2 separate regions of the Homo sapiens genome follow, and region 1 is linked to region 2. Evidence: promoter capture Hi-C in 16 types of primary human blood cells and fetal thymus (Javierre and others, 2016). All regions are on one chromosome and are shown on one strand. The core of a region is centred on a gene start or on the middle of the fragment in contact, and the rest is flanking DNA. Distances in the headings are between cores, read along the strand shown.

The links. Contacts are between HindIII fragments. The CHiCAGO score rates a contact against its expected background, and 5 or more counts as called.
Region 1: a fragment that was not itself captured here is called in contact with the fragment with the promoter of LINC03102 in region 2 in 1 of 17 cell types (naive CD8 T cells); the score reaches 5.9 in naive CD8 T cells.

Annotation. Positions count from the first base shown.
Region 1 is chr1:70,391,873-70,395,993 of GRCh38, forward strand. No RefSeq gene overlaps it. Among named protein-coding and RNA genes, the nearest start is that of CTH, 17 kb to the right of the region's middle. The HindIII fragment of the contact is 3,884 bases long and covers 803-4,121 here.
Region 2 is chr1:70,358,168-70,361,843 of GRCh38, forward strand. It overlaps LINC03102 (long intergenic non-protein coding RNA 3102), which reads right to left and starts at 2,270. Exons shown (of 2, transcript NR_183713.1): 1 at 2,130-2,270; 2 at 1,392-1,828. All of the region lies in intron 1 of ANKRD13C-DT (ANKRD13C divergent transcript), which reads left to right. RefSeq lists an enhancer at 906-965 and a silencer at 2,202-2,395. The HindIII fragment of the contact is 2,416 bases long and covers 794-3,209 here.

The DNA of each region.
Region 1 (4,121 bases), core at 1,495-3,994, 34 kb after region 2:
CTGCCTCAGCCTCCCAAGTAAATGAGGTAGAGCTACAGGATAAGCCACCATGCCCAGCTAATTTTTCAATTTTTTGTGTAGACAAGGTCTCACTGTGTTGTCCAGGCTGATCTTAATCTCCTGGGGTCAAGCAATTCTCCTGTCTTGGCATCCCAAAGTGTTGGGATTACAGGCATGAGCCACCCTCCCCAGCCAGAGTCATTATTTTAAATTGATGTGTGAGAGTCTGTTGTAACACCTGTGGTGTACAGATCAGTAATAATTGTTCTTGTGTTTTGTAATTGGAAAGGATCAGTAATTTGCCCAACGTCACAGAACTAGTAAGGAGTAGAACTAAAATTTGAATCCAGGTGTGTTAATTCCAGACATCAGTAGCTCAATCACTAGTTTTTTGTTTTTGTTTTTGTTTTTTTTTAGATGGAGTTTCACTCTTGCTGCCCAGGCCACAGTGCGGTGGTGTGATCTCGGCTCACTGCAACCTCCGCCTCCTGGGTTCAAGCAATTCTCCTGCCTCAGCCTCTGGAGTAGCTAGGATTACAGGCCCACACCACCACACCTGGCTAATTTTTTGTATGTTTAGTAGAGATGGGGTTTCATTATGTTGGCCAGGTTTGTCTTGAACTCCTGACCTCAGATGATCCACCCACCTTGGCCTCCCAAAGTGCTGGGATTACAGGTGCTCAATCACTATTCTATTCAGCCTCCCTAGAGCAAGACACATACCACCTCACCACAAACAGCCACACCGTGAATATAATTATTAGGAGATAGAAAACTCTCTGCATTTTCTGAGCATCTCCAAAGCTTAGCTACTCTGACTTTGTGCTCCTATGGTATCTTGTACATTCCTCTATTGTGATAGTTAATCCAACAAGATGGAATTATGTGTTTATGTGTCTCCCCCACTAGTATATGAGTACCTCCAGGACAAGGACATGGTTCTATTCATCTTCTACTTACAGTATCTGAATCATAGCTTATGTTCAATGAATTTGGCTGAGTCAATAAATGAATAAACACTAGACTTCCTTTTGTCCAAGCAGGAGGTAGAGTTTTTAAAAAATATTTATTTACTAAGAAATATTTATTACACACCTACTATGTACCAGACCTTGTTCTAGGTGTGATATATATAAGGAAACAAAACAAAAAAGGTATTGTCCCTATAGACATTAATTCTAGCGAGGAGACAGATAACACCTAATAAACACAATAAATAAGTAGTTTATAAATCTACAGTCTTCTAGGAAGTAATAAGTGCTATGAGGAAATTAGAGCAAAATAAGGGACATCAAGATTTGGGGAGGAGGCTGGATGTGGTAACTCATGCCTATAATCCCAGCACTTTGGGAGGCCAAGATGGGAGGATTGCCGGAGGCCAGGAGTTTAAGATAAGCATGGGCAACACAGTGAGACCTGATCTCTATAAACATTTTTTTAAAAAATAGCTAAGCATGGTGGCACATACCTGTAGTCCCATCTACTCAGGTGGCTAAGGTGGAGGATCGCTTGAGCCCAGGAAGTTGAGGCTGCAGTGAGCCGAGATCACACTAGTGCACTCTAGCCTGGGAAACAGAGTGAGATCCTGTCTCAAGAAAGGAAATTTACAAGAAAATGGGTTGAAATTTGAAATAGTGTAGTCAGGGTAGTCTCACTGAGAAGGAGGTGTCATTTGAGCAAAGACCTAGAGGTGATGGGGGAAACAGCTGTGGGCTATTTGGGGGAAAGGTATTCCCACAGTAGCAGGAATGAGGGAGTAGTTTGTGCAAAGGCCCTGTGCAGGAGCATACCTGACTTGTTCAGGGAATAGGCAAGGAACCCACTTTAAACGGAGGACAGAAAAGTAGGAGATAACAGCAGAGAGAATATCGTAGGGCAATTAAAAAACTCTGGCTTTGGCCGGGCGCGGTGACTCACGCCTGTAATCCCAGCACTTTGGGAGGCCGAGGCGGGCGGATCACGAGGTCTAGGGATCCAGACCATCCTGGCTAACATGCTGAAACCCCGTCTCTACTAAAAATACAAAAAAAATTAGCCGGGTGTGGTGGCGGGCGCCTGTGGTCCCAGCTACTGGGGAGGCAGAGGCAGGAGAATGGCGTGAACCTGGAAGGCGGAGCTTGCAGTGAGCAGAGATCAGGCCACTGCACTCCAGCCTGGGCGACAGAGCGAGACTCCGTCTCAAAAGTAAAAAATAAATAAAAATAAAAATAAAAACTTTGGCTTTTACTCTGAGTGAGATGTAAAGACATTAGAGTCTTAAGGAGGAGGGACATAACTGGACATGTATTAAAAGGATCACTGGGGTTGCTATGTTGAGGGTGGACTGTGAGAAGGAAGAAATGAGGTCAATTTGGCTGCTGTGGTAGTAATCTAAGAAAGAGACAGTCAAGGCAGTGGAGGTGCTTGTGTCTCTGAGGGTTTAAATGAAGGAATCAACCATAGTATCAGTTGGGTAATGTCATAATGATACTTTATAAAAATGACTCTACAGGCCGGGCGCCTTGGCTCACACCTGTAAATCCTAGCACTTTGGGAAGCCAAGGTGGGTGAATCACAAGGTCAGGAATTCAAAACCAGCCTGGCCAACATGGTGAAACCCTGTCTCTACTAAAAATACAAAAATTAGCTGGGCATGGTGGCGAGCGCTTGTAGTCCCAGCTACTGGGGAGGCTGAGGCAAGAGAATCGCTTGAACCTGGGAGGCGGGGGTTGCAGTGAGCTGAGATCGTGGCTTTGCACTCCAGCGTGGGCGACATAGCAAGACTCTGTCCCCCCATAAAAAAAAGACTCTATGTGTTATAGTTGTTTGGTCTAACTCTCTCACTCTCCTGTAAACTGTTCAACACTAGGGACTAAGTTTGTCTTTGTGTGTGTGTGATACGGTCTTACTCAACTCAGTTCACACAGCTTCCACCTTCCAGGCTCAAGCGATCCGGGTGGGGGGTGGGGGTAGGTTGCAGTGAACACAATAAATAAAATAAAATTTTTGAGCGAATGACTGGATGGTGATATTATCCACCCTAATGCTTGTGACCCAAAACTTTTGATTAAGGCTCTGTTTTAATAAGCGAACATTTAGCAAGAAACAGGGAAATGGACTTAGAATTTCTGCTTATGGAAAAAATGCCTCAGGGGCTGTATCTAGTCTCAAAAAAATGTCCTGTAAAGATTAAAGACATTTTTAATAAGTAAATATGAAGTTATAAATGGGAGAGCATGACTTCAGAACTATTTATAATAAAAACTATTCTACTAGAAACTCAAAAATGCTCCAATATAATTGGATAAAATTACCCAGTAGTCTTTAAGGTTAAATAATAAAAAAAAATTTTTTTAGTGACAGGGTCTCTCTCTGCCAGCCAGGCTTGAGTGCAGTGTTTCAATCATAGATTACTGCATCCTCAAACTCCTGGGCTCAAGGGATCTTCCCGCCTCAGCCTCCCAAGTAGCTGGGACTACAGACAATGCCACCATGCGCAGCTAATTTTTAAAAAAGGTCTTTTAGAGATGATGTCTCAACATGTTGCTCAGGCTGGCCTCAAACTCCTGGCCTCAAGCCAGCCTCCTGCCTCAGTCTCCCAAGTAGCTGAGATTACAGGTGTGAGCCACTGAGTCCAAAGCTAATAATTTGGTTTTTTGCCATTTAAATAAGGTGGTTATGTAGTAGGCAAACTCTTTTTGGTTTATGAGTGTCAATCTGAAGATATAAGACTTAGAAGCAGTAGCAGATATGCTTATTTTTTCTCCATTTTTTTCTTGAACTGCAACTAGAGGAGGACCAAATCAGTCTAGCTTACTTTCTCTCTCTCTCTCTCTTTTTTTTTTTTTTTTTTGAGACAGGGTCTCTCTCTGTCACCCAGGCTGGAGTGCAGTAGCACGATCTCCGCCTCACTGCAACCTCCGCCTCCCGGGTTCAAGCAATTCTCCCACCTCAGCCTCCCGAGTAGCTGGGATTAAAGGTGCTTGCCACCATGCCAGCTAATTTTTGTATTTTTAGTAGAGAAGGGTTTCACCATGTTGGCCAGGCTGGTCTCGAACTCCTGACCTCAAGTAATCTGCCCGCCTCGGTCTCCCAAAGTGCTGGGATTACAGGCATGAGCCACAGAACCCGGCCTAGCTTAC
Region 2 (3,676 bases), core at 1,020-3,519:
AGTAGTTGGCATTACAGGTCTCCACCACCATGCCAAGCTAATTTTTGTATTTTTAATAGAGATGGGGTTTCACCATGTTGGCCAGGCTGAGTCTCGAACTTCTGACCTCAGGTGATCCGCCCACCTCGGCCTCCCAAAGTGCTGGGATTACAGGCATGAGCCACCACACCAAGACTTATTTTTTGTTGTTTTTTGAGTCTCATTTTGTCAGCTAGGCTGGAGTGCAGTGGCATGATCTCAGCTCACTGCAACTTCCACCTCCCATGCTCAAGTGGATCCTCCCGCCTCAGCCTCCCAAGTGCTGGGACTACAGGGCCCAGCTAATTTTTGTATTTTTTTGTAGAGACTGGGTTTGGCCATGTCACCCAGGCTAGTCTCAAACTCCTGGACTCAAGCCATCTACCCACCTCGGCTTCCTGAAGTGTTGGGATTACAGGTGTGAGCTACTGCCCCCAGCCCATTCATTATTATTATTATTTTTTATAGAGGCCGTGTCTCACTATGTTGGTCAGGCTGGTCTTGAACTCCTGGGCCCAGGTGATCCTTCCACCTCAGCCTCCCAAAGTGCTGAGATGACAGGTGTGAGCCACTGCACTTGGCCCCATCCATTATTTTTAAGGGCTTGTAAAAATGACAGAAATGTAAGATTACAATATATTATAAAAAAGATAGAAATATGATTGTAATACATTATGAAAAATACAAGGATTGAAATTATATAAGCTCCCAATACAATATAGAAAAGGAAGTCATTAATTCTATTTGGGGAAAATAGAAATTGGATGATCAGAAAAGCTTTCTGGGGCTGGGCGTGGTAGCTCATGCCTGTAATCCCAGCACTTTGGAAGGCCGAGGTGGGCAAGTCACTTGAGGTCAGGAGTTCAAGATCAGCCTGACCAACATGGTGAAACCCCATTTCTACTGAAAAATACAAAAAGAATCAGCCAGGCATGGTGACGTCTGCTTGTAGTCCCAGCTGCTCGGGAGGCTGAGGCAGGAGAATGGCTTGAACCCAGGAGGCAAAGGTTGCAGTGAGATTGCACCACTGCACACCAGCCTGGGCGATAGAGCGAGACTCTGTCTAAAAAAATAAATAAATAAATAAAAGAATTACATCAAATTTTATCCCTTCTTAGCACAAATTTTTTTTTAACTTGGCATAGAATTCAGAGCCAGGAAATTGTGTTGAACTAACTTTCCAAATAAAATTTAGCATGTCATTCTATTATGAACGTATGCCACAAACCACAATAGTATTAGCATTAGTAGTACCTGTGACTTCACAACCAAAAAAACCACAGGTATTTTCATTTCACATAACAGTTGCTGCAGACAACTCAAAATTTCATTTATAGTCATTAGTACCTCTAAAATTATCTTAATAGGTATGCTCATTGCTATATCTTGTTCTTTAATTAGTTAATAAAGAAGCATATACATTACTGTATTACAAATTTGCTTTTAAAATATTTTGTTAGGTATTTCAATACTCAGAGTTTCCTTTTAATCCAAAATATTTTATGCATTTAAAAACACTGTTCTGAAAATGGGTCCCTGGGTTTCTCCACACTGCCAAAGAGTCAATGGCACAAAAACAGAAGTTAGGAACTTCTTCTTAGGAATCTTTGATGATACCTGCCCATTCGTCTCCTTTTCTCTCCTATCCAACAAACCCATCGTTCTGAATTAGGTGTCCCTCCTTTGTCTTCTTTTTGATTTCCCATTGTAACTTCTGCATGCCTCCTTGATATTCTTGTCTGGTCTCAACTAATCCTTGGAGCTCTCTGAGCACTGGAATCATGCTGATCATTGCTGTATGCACAGTGCCCTACAGGGAGTGAATGCTTATATTAATAATAAGCAGTTGTTGAATTAATCAGTCTATTAGAACACAAAACCCCAAGTATCTACAAGGTACTAAGACAACTGCAGACTCAGTAATGAGATGCTAAATAAACTTCTTAAATAATCCCAATATAACTACACTGAAATTAGCTGCTACACTCTTGAATTCTTACATGAAGCCAAAGAGTAGATATATCATTTAGGACTTTTTGTTTTTCATGTAGAAGTAACAATAAATTCAATTGAAACAGGGTTAAATTAAAGGAATGTATTGACTTACATACCAGAAAGGTGCAGAGATAAGTCTTCAAGAGTGGCCCCTCAGGATCCCATGTCAGTTTTTCAGTGAATCTCTCGGTGTTTCTCTCTGTATGAGGAGTCCTCCTCAGGCCTGCTTCCTTCAAGAACACAAGATAACTGCCAGCAGGTAAAAGCAGCCACGTGCTTCCTCCTTAAGGTCCAAAGGAGTTCCTGCTCCCACATAAATCTGGAGTATGACAGTTACAAGATAACTCAGTCCAATCTGTGTCCCAGAGAACGGTGATTGGCTCAAGCCTGGGTTATCTGACAAACCCCTGTGAAGGAGGGGTTACTCAGATTAGTTTCACCCAATCAGGATTGATCTCGGAGCCGGAGGTGGGGCCCAGCTCTCCAAACAGTGAACTGTTTCATAATGGGAATGAGGTGGGGAATAATGTTGGAGAGACAAATGCAAGAGTGGTCAGCAAAAGTACTATATCCAAAGACTTAAAACAGGATTTTGCTTCAAAAAAATCTGTTATCACAGTGTCTTGAATTCAATATGATAAAATATGTAGTGATTATCAATTATATCAATATGTAATGAGTAAATAACTTCACTGGTAAACACTGTATTTACTTTTTATTCAAATTTTACAAGATAGAATGCAATCCATCAATTCAAGTATAGAACTAAACTACTGGCCAGGCGCAGTGGCTCACGCCTGTAATCCCAGCACTTTGGGAGGCTGAGGCGGGTGGATCACCTGAGGCCAGGAGTTCGAGACCAGCCTGGCCAACATGGCGAAACCCCGTCTCTACTAAAAATACAAAAATTAGCCGGACGTGGTGGTGGACCCCTATAATCCAAGCTACCTGGGAGGCTGAGGCAGGAGAATCGCTTGAACCTGGGAGGCAGAGGTTGCAGTGAGCCGAGATTGTGCCATTGCACTCCTGCCTGGGCAACAGAGCTAGACTCCATGCCAAAAGGAAAAAAAAAAAAACCCTGAGAACTAAACTACTGAATTTGCTAGGTAATACTCTGTAGTTCTACAAATTAGCAAATTAATTTCTCTCCTGGTGTAGTTAACTCAATAATGCTCAATTTGCCTTGAATAGCAAAAAGCTTCTGAAAAATGAATGTTTTTCAACTTTTTCTAATGAGAGTTTTGTTAGATAGTTATGTGCTCACCAACACCAAACACTGACTAGACAGTTAAATCTGTCTCTAAGAAAGAACGTTGTGAATTTTGCCAGAAATTTATGTATCTCTATTAGCCCTACACAAAGCACCTAATCCCTGTCCTGGTGTCTTCATTTAACAAAAGCAGTAGTATGGTAACATGAAATACAGAACAGCAGTACTGTACAAAATAAAATCTCACTCGTTATATTTTTTAAATATATCAACAGACTTCCAATTAGGATCTGTAGTTACTAACCTTACTCAATTCTCATTGCATTGCATACTAATAATGTTTCTAATGTAAATATTAGTGCAAGTTTAGTCTACATCTTTTTTCTTTCATCTTCTCTGAAGATTTGTGTTTTATATTCTCACAATAATCTGGAATATGATTTCCTACATTCC